Linked DNA regions of Homo sapiens: region 1 is linked to region 2. The links are contacts of gene promoters, found by promoter capture Hi-C in human tissues and cell types (Jung and others, 2019). All regions are on one chromosome and are shown on one strand. The core of a region is centred on a gene start or on the middle of the fragment in contact, and the rest is flanking DNA. Distances in the headings are between cores, read along the strand shown. Region 1 overlaps DEPTOR (DEP domain containing MTOR interacting protein). Region 2 holds the start of DSCC1 (DNA replication and sister chromatid cohesion 1).

Region 1 (3,946 bases), core at 1,031-3,530, 190 kb after region 2:
TAGGAAGTTGCAGTGAGCCAAAATCCTGCCACTGCACTCTTGCCTGAGGGACAGCGCGAGACTCTGTCTTAAAAAAAGAGATTGCATTGGGGATGGTGGGTTGCCAGTGACAGAAATCAGCTAGCCTAACAAAAAAAAAAAAGAAAAAAGAAATTGATTAGAAAGATATTAAGTATGTAAAACAAAGGCAGATCCAGAGAACCAAGCTTTTTATTTTTATTTATTTATTTATTTTTTTGAGATGGGGGTTTTGCTCTTGTTGCAACCTCCACCTCCCAGGTTCAAGTGATTCTCCTGCCTCAGCCTCGCAAGTATCTGGAATTACAGGCATGCACCACCATGCCCAGCTAATGTTTCGTATTTAATAGAGACAGGGTTTCACCATGTTGGTCAGGCTGGTCTCGAACTCCTGACCTCAGGTGATCTACCAGCCTTGGCTTCCCAAAGTGCTGGGATTACAGGCATGAGCCACCGTGCCTAGCCTGGAGAACCAAGCTTGATAAAGGACAGGAACCAAGGCAGATCTGGGGACCCAAATACCAGAGCAAATGAACTTTCCTGTGTTACTCAGCTCCACAGTCAGTGGTCCAGGAGACAGAGTCTGACTGGCCAAGCTTAGGGTCAGATGACCCTGTGAATAGGGGGAGGGCAGGGCATGTTGGTTGACATTCCTATCCATACTGCCCACAGCAGAGGAAAGGTGATACCTGAAAAGAATATCAAGTCAACTGTAGTGAAATGAAGCTGGATAACCAAAAACCAACAGATGTGTCACCATATGACTTTTAGGACAATTTTTATTAAGTGTGTAAAGTACTTGGATTGGCACTTGAGAAATACTAGGTTTTTCAATATATGACTGAATTGATTGAGAGGTTGCCTGCTATTTTGAAAAGGATCCTGCCTGTGATACTCTGCCTCCTAAACTAAATTGTAAGCTTCGTGAAGGCAAAGATGCTGGTATTTATTAGGTTGGTGCAAAAGTAACTGCAGTTTTTGCAATTAAAAGTTGCAAAACCACAATTGCTTTTGCACCTACCTAATAAATCTTATTTAAGTTCTCCACACACTAGTTGGTACAAGATGTCATGGGCTTTTTCTCCAGAACACCTGTGACAGAGGGTCTTCACCTGATCCTCTATACCCCTAGAGATGTGCTCAGGTGGCAGCACAAGTAAGAAGGTTTGTGTGAAATGAGCAGTTCACGGTGTGCTTGCTCTGACCCCACTCTTGACTGGCTGCTCTGGACAGCATGTGGGAACGCAAGGGAGTGAGACTGTCTTTATGCCTAGGGTAGCCCTGAATCAGCCTTACTTTATGAAAGAGTGAATTAGTCACAAACTTTGGCATTTGAGAAATGTGTGTGTGCATACACTTAGAAAACAAAAACAAGAAATGACCTTTTTCTGTTTTTCTAATTTTTTTATTTTTTATCTTTTATGTTTTTTAGGCAGGATCTCACTTTGTCACTCAGGCTGGAATGCAGTGGCATGATCTTGGTTCACTGCAGCTTCAACCGCCTGGGTTGAAGCGATACTCTTGCCTCAGTCCCCCAAGTAGCTGGGACTACTGGCGTGTGCCACCACACCTGGCTAATTTTTTATTTTTATTTTTGTAGAAACAGAGTTTCGCCATGTTGCCTAGGCTGGACTTGAACTCCTGAGCTCGAGTGATCCGCCTGCCTTGGCCTCCCAAAGTGCTAGGATTGCAGACGTGAGCCACTGCACGTGCCCGGCCTGTTTTTCTAAAATTAAATTCAGTTGAAGTGACCATCACCAAGGTTGATGACAAGTTCAATGTCAGATCATTTTGGTGTCCCTTGCCTATGTCCTTCCCGTTTGAGATCATGTGCACCATAACCCACCACAGCCCCCATCCCAGGGCTTTTAGGCAGTCCAGTAAAATGAACCCTGACCAGTATTAGTGACTGGTGCCACTGGCCCTTGGCCAGACAGCCCTGCTGACTGCCCTTTTCCTACCCCTGAACACCTGGGTAAAGGTCCTGTGCAGAGTTCACCAGGTGCTCATCCTCCCACACATACAGCCTTGACCATCCTAGCTTCTGAGGCCTCCAAGAGCTCTGCAATCAAGAGGTGCACAGGACCCCATCTTGAACCAAACCAGCCTCTCCCTTCTAGACAGAAGGGAGATCCTTGTAGACCAAGAATCTACCCACTGTTAGCATCAGGGCCCTCTTCCCTTCAATGTTTATTGTTTTGTTTTGTTTCATTACTTAACTAAGAGCTTTATGGAGATATAGTTCACATACCATGCAATTTATCCATGTAAACTGTAGAATTCAGTAGTTTTTAATATATTCACAGATTTATGTCACTATTACAACAATTTTAGAGCATTTTTATCACCCCTAAAAGAAACCCCGTACCCATTACCAACCACTTCCATGCCCCACCCCACCACCCCTGCTCCCAACCCTAAGTAATCAATAATCTACTTGCTGTCTCTGTGGATTTGCCTACTCTGGACATTTCATATAAATGGGCTCTTACACTCTATGGTCTATTCTGACTGGCATCTTTTACTTAGCATAATGTTTTCAGGGCTCACCCATGTTGTAGCATGTTGTATGTTCCATTTTATGGCCGAATAATATTCCACTGTATGGATATACTGAATTATATTTCTCCTTTCATCTGTCTTTTTAAATTTTTTAAATATATAGATATATATATTTTGTAGAGACGGAGTCTCACTATGTTGTCCAGGCTGGCTCAAGCAATCCTTCTGCCTCAGCCTCCCAAAGTGTTAGGATTACAGGCATGTGCCACCACGCCCAACCTCCTTTCATCTGTTGACAAACATTGGGGTCCTTCAGTTCTTGAAGCTTCAAGCCACCCTGTCTTCAACGCTTTTCCCTCTGGTGGCCATAGATCAGGGACCACAAACTCACATGCCTGTCAGCCAGGTGTTAGGAAGATAGGAAGCCGTAAGGACTGTGGCAAATGAGTGTCCATGCCATGTGTAGAACAGGCAGGCTCTACTCAGCCATGGCCACATGGCCATCTACACCTGGTATGATCACAGCTTCTGATTGTCCCAGAGAAGCCAGAGTCTGGGTTTTTATTTATTTATTTATTTTGAGACAGAGTCTTGCTTTGTTGCCCAGGCTAGAGTGCAGTGGCAGAATCTCGGCCCACTGCAACCTCTGCCTCCCAGGTTCAAGCAATTCTCCTGCCCCAGGCTCCTGAGTAGCTGGGATTACAGGTGTGCCACTACACCTGGCTAATTTTTGTATTTTTAGTAGAGATGGGGTTTCACCATGTTGGCCAGGCTGGTCTTGAACTTCTGGCCTCAGGTGATCTGCCCGCTTCGGCCTCCCAAAGTGCTGGGATTACAGATGTGAGCCACTGCACCCAGCCCAGAGTCTGGATTTTTATGCAAAGATTTTCCAAATTTTATTTTATTTTTTACTTTTATTTTTTGAAATGGAGTTTCACTGTTGTTGCCCAGGCTGGAGTGCAATGGTGTGATCTCGGCTCACTACAACCTCCACCTCCCGGGTTCAAGTGATTCTTCTGCCTCAGCTTTCCAAGTAGCTGGGATTACAGGCATCCGCCACCACGCCCAGCTAATTTTTTTGTATTTTTAGTAGAGACGGGGTTTCACCATGTTGACCAGGCTGATCCACCCGCCAGGCTGATCCACCTCAAGTGATCCACCTGCCTCGGCCTCCCAAAGTGCTGGGATTACAGGCATGAGCTACTGTGCCTGGCAGATTTTCTAAATTTTAAATGCTGGTCAATTAAAACAAACATGATGTGTGACAGAGGACACACAATTGTGGTTAAGACTAAATGCTGAGGCCAAGTGTGGTGGCTCACACCTATAATCCCAGCACTTTGGGAGGCCAAGGTGGGAGGATCACCGGAGGTCAAGAGTTCAAGACCAGACTGGCCAACATGGCGAACCCCCTCTCTACCAAAAA
Region 2 (3,943 bases), core at 420-2,919:
TCTCTCCCCAAAAAAAAGATAAAGAAAAAAGAAGGAAGAGGAAAGGATGAAGGTGAAGCGGAGGAAAAGGAAGGATTAAAGACAAAGATGATGGCAATGACAGGGGAGTTGGTTCTAGCAGTTTTCCTTGTCTGTAAAGCATTTAATTCTCCTGTGCACAACTCGTTTCTTTTGAATAAATAATAAGAAACCTGAAATAGCAGACTGTGTATTTATTTTTGACTAAGTCTTCATTTAAGTAAAAAGAATAAAAGGTTTTTTAGATTCCTAATGCTAATAATGCTTAATAGGCCCAAGTACCTAGTCTTTAACATTTATTTCTCTAACTGCACTACCCCCACTTTGAAATATTTTGTTTATACCATCACTCCCTACACCCCAAAATTAAAAACACACGTTTCCAGGGCCTGTTTTTATTTTTTTGTTTTTGTTTTGTTTTGTTTTTGCCAGCTAGATTAACTAGAACTGGACCGAGAGAAAGTCCTCACACCTGAGTTCCTTTCTCAACTCTCCACCAACTGAACCGGGATGGAAACAGACTAGTGAAGTTCTTTCAGTTCCCTTAAAGGTACTTTGAGGTATATAGCAGGTATCTGAAGAATGGCCAGTTTACTCTAACACTCTTTGGTGGGCAAAGTACGAAAACTGAAAGACAGCCTAAAGGATTCCATTAAGAAAAAAGAGAAAAAATAGCCTAATAAAATATAGGTGTCGGAGGACCAATTGTGCAAAAGAGAATCAAGCTGGAGCTCCCTATTTTGCAGGAGCTGGGGCTGCACAGGGTGGAGGGATATAACGATTCTCTAGACTTCTCAAGACTGCCTTTAAAAAACTACCTCAACTTCGACTTCTAATCAATGATCTTGCAGCAAGTTTGTATCTGACCTGGAATTAGAAACAGCTTCAGATCCCTACTAAGCAAGTTTGCTTCGGGGTGGGTAGGGGTCTCACCCAATTACCAAGTCTGTAAGCTGATTCCCAGCACTTCCTATCTATCATCTGAGTAAAATAAATATAAGTGGAAGGCAAGAGTTCTATAAACATTGGGTATCACCACTGTATTTTAAGGTAGAGTGACAGGTGTCCTGTAGAGTCCCTGTAATCACCGGTAACTCTTCAAAAACTTCACGGAGGTTGTATTAGTATTTCCTGACTTGCTCCCGCTGACACATGCCTCCAAGGTCAGCTGGACCAGTGCTACTCATCACCGCAGTGCAGCTAACTGGACGGCCCACCGGAGGCGTGGACTCCTCGGGAACAGGCAGCTTGCTATGAGCCCCCGGCCAGGTCAGTGCATCTCTCTGGCCCTGTTTTCTTATCCCGACTTTCCCCGCTGAGAAAATAACGTGGCCGGCCAGAGGCTGGGGGCGCCGCGTGACCAGGGCTCACCTGTGTCCATCCTCCAGCTGCTGGCACAGCGTGGGCTCCAGCTCCAGCAGGCAGAAGTCGCCGGCTGCAGCGCCGCTGGCCCCAGGGCCGAAGCCCAGGCAGTGCACCGCCGGCAGCAGCTCGGCCGCATTCAGCTTGGCGATCTGCAGCGTCGCATCCACCTCGTCGCGGGTCCTCTTCATCGCAGCGCCGGGTCTAGGAGTCCCGCCGCGCCCGGGTGGCTGCGGGCTTGGCGGGCAAGAAAGAAGTTCCCAAGCAGCCGGAAGGTAGGAAACCTGAGCGTTTGAAAGCGCGCCAAGGCGGCCATGGGCGTGTTTCCGGGGCGGAGCGCGCTGCGGGCCCGCCCGCGGGAAGGCCTGCCGGCTTCTGGGAGCGCGAGCCCCTCCGTGCCCCACGCCGGACCGCGACTGCAGGAAGGAAACGCGGCTTCCCGGGGGGCGGTCTCGGCGGAAGCTCGCAGGGGCAGAGCTGCGACTCGGCGGGTTGGGACACGGATCCCTCGCCCACCCTTTCCGCTGTCCCCTTGCCCGCCCCCCATCCCCGATCTCCGTCCCTGGTTTCCAGCCGATGCTCCCATTTCCTCGCCGTCCACATTGTCTCACCTTCCGCCAGTGGCGGGCCCTGTGATAACCACTTGGCATGTATAATTCCATGAGCCCGTTGCCACAACCCTGTAAGGTGGTGCCTTGGTCATTCCCTTTTGCCAATGAGGAAGCAGGCTCCTTGCTCGTGATGGCAGAGTCAGGAGGTAACAGAGTCTGACTCCAGCCTAGCCGACTGTGGCTCTAAAAGCTTCCTGCGGGGTTTTGTGCAAATAACCCATGCTCGGGAGCGAGGCCCTGGGAAGGAGTATCTCGCTTCTTTGGGTCAGGGCACCATCATATCTGGAGACAACGGCGGGACTAGTCTATTCGTTGAATACCTAGTGTTAACCGAAAAGTGACTGATGCAGGTCTCGTTCAATAGAGGTTTATTTAAGCAAGGTTGAGGACGCACCCGAAGGGAAAAACAAGTCACAGGAGCATCTGTGACTTGTACATTTTCCAAAGGTTTGGGGAACTTCAGTATTAAGAGTTTTAAGAGAAAAGGTTTTCACTATGCACACATACATGAATTGCTTGTAACAGCGTAATGTGTAAACTTTCCCAGAGATGCTTAGGGAATCGTTGAGGGCCCTGGCTGTCCCTGAGAGCTAAAATAGTCTGGGAGGAATCACTTAAGAGATGGTGACCTCCTACTAGTTAGTGCAAATCAGACCTTGCTTGAAGTGAAAGAAAGTGGTGGGTAAGGTGTTGAATTCAAAGGATCTGAGCAGACATTTTTTTCAATTCTTGGGTAAAATGATACGAAAATACCAGAGTAGGGCATCCCAGGAGTCTGGGCAGTGCTTTCGTTGGTGGTGGAAAGATTGGTTCATGTGACCTACTTCTTCACTAGCCTCTTTTACATTTGAATGCATAGGAATTCGGTGGAATGAAATCCTGAATGTGACAGTGGTTGCCTGATAAGAAGTTATTATTGAAGGGAATCAACCATTGTAGTTGCTCTATTAAATGGGAAACATTCCCTACAACTAGAAGCAGTGTCAACTAGAACCCTGACATTTACATCAGACAGGCATGGCTGCGAATCCCAACTCTCTTCAGAACTTTGTGACCTAAGGCAATTTACCTAATTTCTCTGAGTACAACTTCCTTATCGATAAAAAAGCACATAAGACCTACATTCTTAAGATGTACATTCTAAAATGCATGGCTGCTTAATAAATGGCAGCAGTTCTTTTTGTTTTTATGTATTAATCATTATGAATTTAATTTCCAATTAATGGTATGAAATTATTGCCATTAATTTGATATTCTGTCAGGGAGCTGGACCTGTGTTCCTCTCATAAGACAAAATGATGATAGTTTTTATTAATTCATTCTTTAAAATTATGTTAATATGTTTTTCTAAAGTAAGAAATTTTCTGTACCTTTTCAAAAAACGATTGAAGCTGGCTTAATCATTCATCTGGTAGCAGGAAAAAAATATTCTTTATCAGGTAAAAAAATGAACAGTTATAATAAATTTCAAAAGTTCTGTTCATGAGAACAGAATCAGCTAAAATTGATTCTGTTCTCTTGGACACTGTACTCTTGATTATATTGCTCATATATTGTGTTTCATGGCATGAAATGAGAATTTTATTTACTAAATCTTAGTTCATATTATAGAATCATGTATGAACTTTTTTCCTTTTCTTTTCCTCTCTTCTCTTCTTTTTTATTCAATAAAGAGCACAGTGACGGCCAGGTGCAGTGGCTCACGCCTGTAATGCCGACACTTTGGGAGGCCAAGGTGGGCAGATCACCTGAGGTCAGGAGTTCGAGACCAGCCTGGCCAACATGGCGAAACCCCGTCTCTACTAAAAGTACAAAAAAATTAGCCGGGCATGGTGGCAGGCGCCTGTAATCCCAGCTACTCTGGAGGCTGAGACAGGACAATCGCTTGAACCCAGGAGGCGGAGGTTGAAGTGAGCGGAGATCATGCCACTGCACTCCAGAGTGAGACTCTT

What was found. Contacts are between HindIII fragments. The study calls those that stand out against the background at their distance.
Region 1: a contact is called between a fragment that was not itself captured here and the fragment with the promoter of DSCC1 in region 2, in 2 of the 25 tissues and cell types used here (dorsolateral prefrontal cortex and hippocampus).

Annotation. Positions count from the first base shown.
Region 1 is chr8:120,043,942-120,047,887 of GRCh38, forward strand. The region is part of intron 8 of DEPTOR (DEP domain containing MTOR interacting protein); the gene reads left to right. Among named protein-coding and RNA genes, the nearest start is that of COL14A1, 79 kb to the right of the region's middle. RefSeq lists an enhancer at 3,665-3,946. The HindIII fragment of the contact is 3,861 bases long and covers 351-3,946 here.
Region 2 is chr8:119,854,225-119,858,167 of GRCh38, forward strand. DSCC1 (DNA replication and sister chromatid cohesion 1) reads right to left here and starts at 1,670. Exons shown (of 9, transcript NM_024094.3): 1 at 1,390-1,670. The coding sequence starts at 1,571. LOC105375728 (a long non-coding RNA gene) reads left to right here. Exons shown (of 4, transcript XR_928590.3): 2 at 451-578; 3 at 1,182-1,655. RefSeq lists an enhancer at 1,342-1,651 and a silencer at 1,762-1,821. The HindIII fragment of the contact is 8,457 bases long and covers 1-3,943 here.